Linked DNA regions of Homo sapiens: regions 1 and 3 are each linked to region 2. The links are contacts of gene promoters, found by promoter capture Hi-C in blood cells and fetal thymus (Javierre and others, 2016). All regions are on one chromosome and are shown on one strand. The core of a region is centred on a gene start or on the middle of the fragment in contact, and the rest is flanking DNA. Distances in the headings are between cores, read along the strand shown.

Region 1 (2,700 bases), core at 40-2,539, 1.1 Mb after region 2:
ACAACATGGTAGGGTTAGGGGCACCACCTCCCCCTCACAAACAAAAACCTGCATTTAACTTCCCAGAAACTTTACTAATAGCCTGCTGTTGACCAGAAGCTTTATCAATAACATAAAGTCAACTAATTCATATTTTATATGTGTATTATATCCTGTATTCTTACAGTAAAATAATCTGGAGAGAAGAAAATTTATTTAAAAAAACCATAAGGAAGAGAATATATTTACTATTCATTAAGTGTAAGTGGATCGTTATAAGGTCTTTGTCCTCTTCTTCACATTGAGTAGGCTAAGGAGGAGGAAGAAGAAGAATCGTTACTCTTATCTCAGGGGGTGACAGAGGTAGAAGGAGTGGCAGGAACATTTGGCGTAGCTTTACAGAAATACAATTTCTGCCTGACTTCTTTTTTGCTTTTTCGTTTCTCTACAAATGTTTCTACACTTTAACCATTTGCTTTAGTTTCAGGGCAGATATCATAGAAGGGTTCCTGTCATAAAAGGAAGTCAAAAGCAGTCTTGAATAATTGGAACCTTTCTGCCAGAATTTCTAAGTTTTTAATGTTAGTTTGTTTTCTGGCATTGCTGCTTATATGTTGTCTTTCTGATCGTCTGGCCCCTGTTCAAAAGCACTCATCTTCATCATGTCATCTTGTTACTTCCTCTTGTGTGGTGTCTGTTTGCACCTGAATTTATCCAAGATGCTTATTTTTAAAGGCTTCACCATCACCACCCCACCACCACCTTTTTTTTTTTTTTGCCATATTCACAATCTCTTTCATGATTTCCTTGATTGGCTCTGCCATAAATCCTGTGAAGTCATGCACAACATCTGGACACAATTTTCTCCAGCAGGAATTTTCTATAACGATGGCATCTTCAGTGGTGTAATCCTTCCTGACTTTCATGATGTTCTCTCTATTGGGATTTTCTTACATGGAGTTAACAGTCCTTTTCCATAGAATATCGTGTAATGAGACTTAAAGATTCTTATGACCCGCTGATTGGGAAGGTGAATTAGAGACATTGTGTTTGGGGGGCAAGTAGACCACTTCAACACCTTTGATGTTAAATTCATGAGGTAACCAGGGGCATTGTCCAATATCAAAAGAACCATAAAAGGCAGTCCCTAACTGGCAAGGTACTTTTTTACTTCAGGGGCAAAGCATCAATGGAACCAGTCTAGAAAATTAGTTCTTGTTTTCCTGACCTTTTTGTTGTACCACCAAAAGATTGTTAGTTTTTCTCTTCGAGGCTCAGGAGTTAGTAGCTTTATAGATAAGGGCAGCCCTGATCATAAACCTAACTGCTTTTACACAAAACAGTGGAGTTAGCCTATCCTTTCCTGCTTTAAATCTTGTTGCTTACTTCCCCACCTTACTAATATAATAAATGTCTCTTGTGGCATTTTTTTCTGGACTGGGGTAGTTGCATTAAAAACTTAGGCAGATATCCTTCCTCAGCTGTTTTCTTAACAGTGCCTGGGAACTTGTCTGCTGCCTCTTGGTCAGTAGAAGCTGTTTCTCCTATTATCTTGACATTTTTAAAGCCAAATCTCTTTCTGAAATTATCAAACCATTCTTTGCTGACATTAAATTCTTTCTTCACCTTTCTTTTGCTTTAAGTTGTCATATAATGAGTTTACTTAGAGTCTGTAGGTATGCCTTTCTTATAGCAATTCTGTACCCACATAAAAGCTGCATCTTGAATGTGAGATAAAAGTATTTTGCAAAAACTGCAAGATTTTTGCACCTGCTACTGTAGGTGCAGCAGTGGCTTCACAAATTTCCTTTTCTTCAATACTTTTTATGTTGGATTCATTTATCTTAAAATGGTGAGCAACTGCAGCTACACACCTCAACCTTCTATGCTTATTAAGCAATTCAACTTTTTCTTGTAATACCGTGACTTTTCTCTGCTTCTTGGAAGCACTTCCAGTATCACTAGTGGCAACTCTTATGGGTCCCGTAGTGTTAGTCAAGGTTTCAGGTATTGCTCTAAACATAGTGAAAAATGAGTTAACTGAGAGATACCACTTCTACTGTGACAGTAAATTCACTCAGGTGGTGATGATTATCCTCATGACATTTTAAGCAGATACTTGAAACAGCTGAGCTTGCTGCAATAGCAACAGGAGATAGCTATGAAATTATTATGTACGGAGTTAATTTTATGCAGTTATTCATTAGTACATCTTTACGTTTCTTTACATTTCTCTGGACTTTGGATGATACCATATATAGTCTAAGACTTTGTGTGTGTAAGTTTTGTTGAATTTTAACTTTTTATATTTGTGTATATTTTACAGTAATGTCATCAAATAGAGTGGTATCTATAGTTTATGCATTCATGACATAACTTAATTTTTCAATATTTCTAGGCTACACAGTTTGTCTGCAAGTTTTTTCAAATTGTCACAAATCTCCAAAAAATTTTCTTACATATTTTAAAAAACTGGCGTATGAATGGATCCATGCAGTTCAAAGCTTTGTTGTTCAAGGGTTAACTAACTGTAGTTATATTCACTGTGCCTGCATGTTGCTCATGCAGTGACTAGTATGATGTCTTCCTTTACCCAAGCTAGTATGGCTTTTTTCTCTTATTATTTATGTATCAAGGAACCTCCTCAAGGTTAGCTGCTATTATAAGAAACAACTGGAAATTGTCTTTGAAGTACCACACAGAAGAAACTTGGCTTGTTTC
Region 2 (2,700 bases), core at 14-2,513:
GACCCTGGCACGGATAGGAAAGGAGGAGCCGCGGCGCGGGCAGCGGGGCGAGGGGCTTCTGTGCTCGCGGGAGCGGCAGCCCAGGGGGCTCAGCAGCCCCGGCACCGCCGCACCTGAGGCTCCAGCAGCCCCAACCCCGCCAGCGCTGCCTGGCCACCGTACCCGAAGCGGCTCCCCCGAGGGCCCCGAGCCTATCCTACGCCGGGGCGGCTCCGCGGACGCGCCGGGCCGAGTCAAGACCTGGGTCAACCGCCCTGCAGCCTTTGTAGGGAAGTGCCTAGGTGATGGGTCTGCTGATACCGCCTGTGACCAGGCCATGAAGGGCCAGAGGGGCTCCAGTGAGACCATAATCCGCCCCTCTTTAAAAGGGGGTAGAGGAAGTTCACGCGAAGCCAACAGTCTTCTCCCCAGCTTTGGGTCCTCTCCTGCACCCCCGCGGGAGATAAGGTCTCCCCTCCCGGACACATCATACATACACAAAAAAACGCACACACTCGCACGCGCGCCCATCTCGCACCCGCTTGTAAATGCACTAAGGGGCATACACACACCGGGCACATATTTCTTTCCACCCATCCCCAAGATCGCAAGCGCAAAACCTCGCACAGCCTCACGTTTCCCACCAGCTCAGACATGCACGCTGGCGGACTTTCAGCGGCTCACCCGTGTGCACACTCACGTGCCCCCCCCCCCGCTTCCCCAAGCCCGTACAAAGGGTAACGGGCAAGCATCCTGAGTCACACCTGCACAAGCATCCTTGCGCGCACGTGCACGCTCATATGCACTCGATCTTGCACGCACAAACTCTTGCATATACTATTCTTATAGTCGCACACTGGGCTTGAGGTCTGGGAGTGGAAGGAAAAGTGGAATCTTGGAGCTGTCCCAGGGGACAGAAATGCTGGAGGCTGGGACACTGGCGCGAGGGACGCGGCTGGGGGCGGGGGAGGGGGTGACCCAGAAGCTCATCTTCTCCTGGAAAGTTGGGAGGGGGGAACAGGACAAGTCCACGGCGTTCCTCTAAACTACCGCATTCCCCCAAGAAGGGATTTCTCTAGAAGAGTGGCGCCGCGAGGACGATCGAACACAGTCCTCCGGGTCGCTTAAGCGGGGGGGAGGGGGGCGGGGTGGAGGGGGTTAGAAAGCCGCTCCCGCCTCCTAGTGGTCGAGAAAGGGTTAAGTCGGCAAGCCAGCAAACGAGGGAGGAGCCAGCGAGTGCGGGAAGGAGTGGGGGTGGTTGGGAAGAGCTTCCTCGCTGTCCCCACTCTCCCTCGGCTAGCAGCCTGGGCACACGGACAGACGGACTGACGGACTCTCGAGCGGACAGCGCAGCTAGCGGGGCGCGGGCGCTGGGCGTCGACGGCCAGCCCCAGCCTTCCCCGCCCCGTCGCGCCCCGCCCCGTCCCGTCGGGGCCGATGGCTCCTCCCGAGGCCCGCAGCCCGGGCGGCGCAGGGTAGAGCGCCGCGGCCCGGCCACGCAGCCCGGGGACTCCCGGGCCCTCCCGGAGCCCCGCGGGGTCCCCGCCGTGCATCCGGCGGGCTCAGGGAGCGAGTGGGAGCGCCCTCCCCCCGCTGCCCCCTCCCCCGAGCATCGAGACAAGATGCTGCCCGGGCTCAGGCGCCTGCTGCAAGGTAAGAACGCCAGCGGCGGGAGAGCGGAGGGCATCCTGGGGAGAGAAGCAGGGCGTCCCCTCTTTCAGGGATTGAGGGTGGGGCAGTTGGGGAGGTGGGGTAACCTGGGGAAGGGGAAAAGCTCAGCGCTGGGGCCGCGCCCCCGCCGCCAGGGCTGTTCTCAGCAGGAGGGCACTTGGCTGGGAGCCCGCGGGCGCGTGCGAGGAGCTCGTGACCGAGGTGGGACGCAGGGGGCAGGTGGACCCGGCCCGGAGCGGGGAGGGAGGCTCAGGTTCCGCTGTCCCCGCTCCACCTGCTCCGGGGGACGCTGAGGACTCGGGCCGGCTGGGGAAGCGCCGACTCAGCAACTCCTCCTGCCCGGTGCCTCAGCACTTTCTGGCCACCTGGGAAGACAGGAGATGTGGGTAGGGGGCTGTCTGGGGAGGTAGGAGGCGCAGAGGGAAATCCAAGTGGCCCTCTCTGGTAGGAGAGATGGAGGGCGCTAGAAAGAGGATAGTTCTACTGATTGAGTGACAGATAAGGGTGTGGGCCAGAGACTGGGGGTGGGGTGGGGAGGGGTCAGGGGGAGAGGGATAGGAAGGAGAACTCAAAGATGGAGAAAGTGGTGAGGGAAGCTCAAAGGAGGAGGGAGATGGAGCGGGGGAGGGGGAGAAGGAATAAAGGTTAGATGGGAAAAGCGTGGAGGGAAGTGGGACCCAGGTGAAGACCAAGGAAGAGGGAAGGAGAGGAAAGACCAGATCAGGGGAGGGATGGGAAGAAGACTATGGACAGGGACCCAGAATCCTGGGATGGAGGTAGCGGGAAAGAGAATCAGGACTGGGACCCTGGGGACTGGAATGGAAAAGGAGAATGGAAAGATCAGAAACCAGAGAAGGATGGGGATGGTGACTAGAGAAGGGGTATCAGGAACCGGCGAAGAGGGTTGGAGACAGGGAACCATGGATGGGAGAGGGGCTGGAGAGGAGGGAAGAGGAGGAGGAAGAGAAAGGCTGAGAGAGAGGGACTGGGGATTGGGGGTGCTGCCCAGGGATGAGACAAAGAGGCTTCTGGTAACCACTTCCACGTGGG
Region 3 (2,700 bases), core at 199-2,698, 1.1 Mb after region 2:
GTTGATGGGTATATCAGAATTCATTAAACTATTTTCTCTACTTTTGCATACTTAAATTTCTTTATAATAGAAGTTTTTTAAAAAGAAGGACAAATAGGCCGGGCATGGTGGCTCATGCCTGTAAATCCCAGCACTTTGAGAGGCCGAGGCGGGCGGATCGCCTGAGGTTGGGAGTTCGAGACCAGCCTGACCAACATGGAGAAAACCCGTCTCTACTAAAAACACAAAATTAGCCAGGCATGGCGGCACATGTCTGCAATCCCAGCTACTCAGGAAGGCTGAGGCAGGCGAAACGCTTGAACCTGGGAAGCAGAGGTTGCGGTGAGCCGAGACCGTGCCATTGCACTCCAGCCTGGGCAACAAGAGCAAAACTCCGTCTCAAAAAAAAAAAAAAAGAAAAGAAAAGAAAGAAAAAGAAAAGAAAACTAAGGTAGAAAAAGAAAGAAAACTTTTTGCCTCAGATTTTTATTAGCCAGACCCCACACCAAATTTGAGAATTTTGAATTTTTATTCTACATCTTTCAATTATGCTAGAGCCCCTTTCTTTTCTATTTTCTAAGCTTTGCTCTAACTAGAAGCCAAAGATCCTCCTGAGCTCAAAATAAAAAGCCATTTACAATAAAGATTATAAGAGAGAAGAAACCATACCACAAAGAGTAGGAAGTTGCCCTCAGAAGCACCAGCTAACCAAAGTTATCAAAACCCTTCTTTCTGGGTCATGAGTTATAGGCTTTTCTCTTCCTGTTTCATATGAGTGTGCATATCACCAACACTGTGAGGTTATTATGCCTTTTGCCAGATTTTGTAATTTGAAGATGACTAATTTCAGTATGACAAATATGGGATTCCTGGAGAGTGGGGGCGGGGGAAGTGGGGACTAGACTGAAGACTCCATAATTCTTCTCTGTAGTCTTTTACTGTGGAGATGAAATAATATCAATATTAACATGAAAGGAGTAAAGTGAGGTCTCTTGGGAGTCTCTGAGGGTTGCATGGATTTCATTCGGAGGCAGAATCTGCTCCTGGTTCCTCTTTATCTATCATGCCTAATGCCTACGTAATGAGGGTTTAGGTAAAACCTTCTGGGTGTATACAAGCTGCTAGCCTCTGAGGCACCACTGCAGACAGGAAATATTTGCTCACTTGAGCCAACCTGTCCTCGATGCCATTTCTCTGCCAGCAGGAAGAAAGATCCACACCAAGTCTCAAGGGTAGTTACTGGGCTGATGACAATTTGAAGAAACTGTTGAAGTGTAGCCATCAACAGCCTGTGGAGACGTAGCCAACTGGATAATCTGCACAAATATTAGCTTCCAGGCTACTTGGTACTTTCTGTATTTCCAGACAAGATTTACCTAACATTTAGCCTGCTCAGGAGATGCAAAACAATATAAGTTTCTGTTAAATCTGGGTTACTTCATTGGACAGACACCAGAACCAATAAACTTCTAAAATAGGAGAGCACCTTGTTGCTTAGTTTTGGTGTCAGGTGTTCCCGACAGTGACATTGAAAAAGTTATTTTGTTTTTCTTAGTTTTCTCATCTGAAAAAGAAGTGGATAACACCTATTTCAGAGGGTTGCTGCAGACACTAAAATGATTAACATATGTAAAAATGTCTAGTTTTTGCTTGATTTACTAAATAAGTATTAGTTTCCTTTTGAATTATTTGCCATGAAAGCCTTTCGGTGTCCCCTCCATCCCCCCCAAAAAAAAGAAAGAGAAAAAGAAAAAAGGCCCTAGCACTACTAGAACTCAAGCAGAAATTCACATTCTCCCAGCACTCACGTAGGATAAGAAATAGAATTCTACCCCAAGTCCAAAAAAGAGTCTGGCCCAATATCAAAATAGACTTTACCTCCAAAGCAGTTTGATATTTATTAAACACTACCTTTTTCTCTTCATTAACATCTCTTGCCTCCTGGTAATTTGCCCTTTACTTTTCCTCTGTTTCTCCAGCTTTGAAATCACACGCCATTTTTTTTAAGACAATGTAACAATGTGCAAGATATTTTTTGTTGTTGTTTTTTGCACTTTTGACATACCCTATCCCCAAACACACCCCAAACCAGGACACTGTGGAATTAATACAGTTTGGAAATTGGGTATAGTTTAGTGACTCAGTGTTAGTTAAGATGCTGGCAACAGATGTTGGCAAAGGCTATGGAATGAGTCCCAAGAATGACAAACCTTACATTACTCCAAAGGTTTGAAATCCAGGATTTCTCTGGTTAATATGGTTAATAGTTCCACTGCTGGTTTTAATTGTCTTAGAGTGGAAGGAGGTGTCATATTTTCAGGCCCTAGTAATCTCTTCCTTCAGAATTCTTCTGAATAAAAAGCTTAGCAACAAAATCACTAGAGTTAGAGTGCTATGCCTTCTTGATTTAATACTAAAACATGGAACAAATGAAACCACTCTGGCCTTTTTCCAACCTCTACAGATCCCTCATTCTTATACTTCTAGTCCGTCTTTTCTTCCTCATAACACCCCAATTCCCTTTTTGCTCTTTCTTTTCCTCCTCAAATCATATCTCTGCATTGTCTCGCTATGTGGCCACCCTTGATCTCCAGTGACCTCCAAAGGGCAAAACGCCCATAACAAGACAACAACTGCAGTAACAATCCAGTCCAAAAGTATTTGCCAAGAGTTTATTCCGCGGTTAGCACCAAACTCTCCATCTATTTTGCCACTGCAAAC

Evidence for each region. The method cuts DNA at HindIII sites, captures the fragments that hold promoters and counts their contacts. A CHiCAGO score of 5 or more calls a contact.
Region 1: a contact is called between a fragment that was not itself captured here and the fragment with the promoter of RTN4RL2 in region 2, in 1 of 17 cell types (non-activated CD4 T cells). The highest score is 5.9, in non-activated CD4 T cells.
Region 3: a fragment that was not itself captured here is called in contact with the fragment with the promoter of RTN4RL2 in region 2 in 1 of 17 cell types (M0 macrophages); the score reaches 5.3 in M0 macrophages.

Annotation. Positions count from the first base shown.
Region 1 is chr11:58,595,961-58,598,660 of GRCh38, forward strand. All of the region lies in intron 2 of ZFP91 (ZFP91 zinc finger protein, atypical E3 ubiquitin ligase), which reads left to right. All of the region lies in intron 2 of ZFP91-CNTF (ZFP91-CNTF readthrough (NMD candidate)), which reads left to right. Among named protein-coding and RNA genes, the nearest start is that of ZFP91-CNTF, 18 kb to the left of the region's middle. The HindIII fragment of the contact is 2,384 bases long and covers 98-2,481 here.
Region 2 is chr11:57,459,265-57,461,964 of GRCh38, forward strand. It overlaps RTN4RL2 (reticulon 4 receptor like 2), which reads left to right and starts at 1,264. Exons shown (of 3, transcript NM_178570.3): 1 at 1,264-1,632. The coding sequence starts at 1,602. RefSeq lists silencers at 112-171, 1,271-1,540. The HindIII fragment of the contact is 14,932 bases long and covers 1-2,700 here.
Region 3 is chr11:58,572,867-58,575,566 of GRCh38, forward strand. The region is part of intron 1 of LPXN (leupaxin); the gene reads right to left. Among named protein-coding and RNA genes, the nearest start is that of LPXN, 1.6 kb to the right of the region's middle. The HindIII fragment of the contact is 1,781 bases long and covers 559-2,339 here.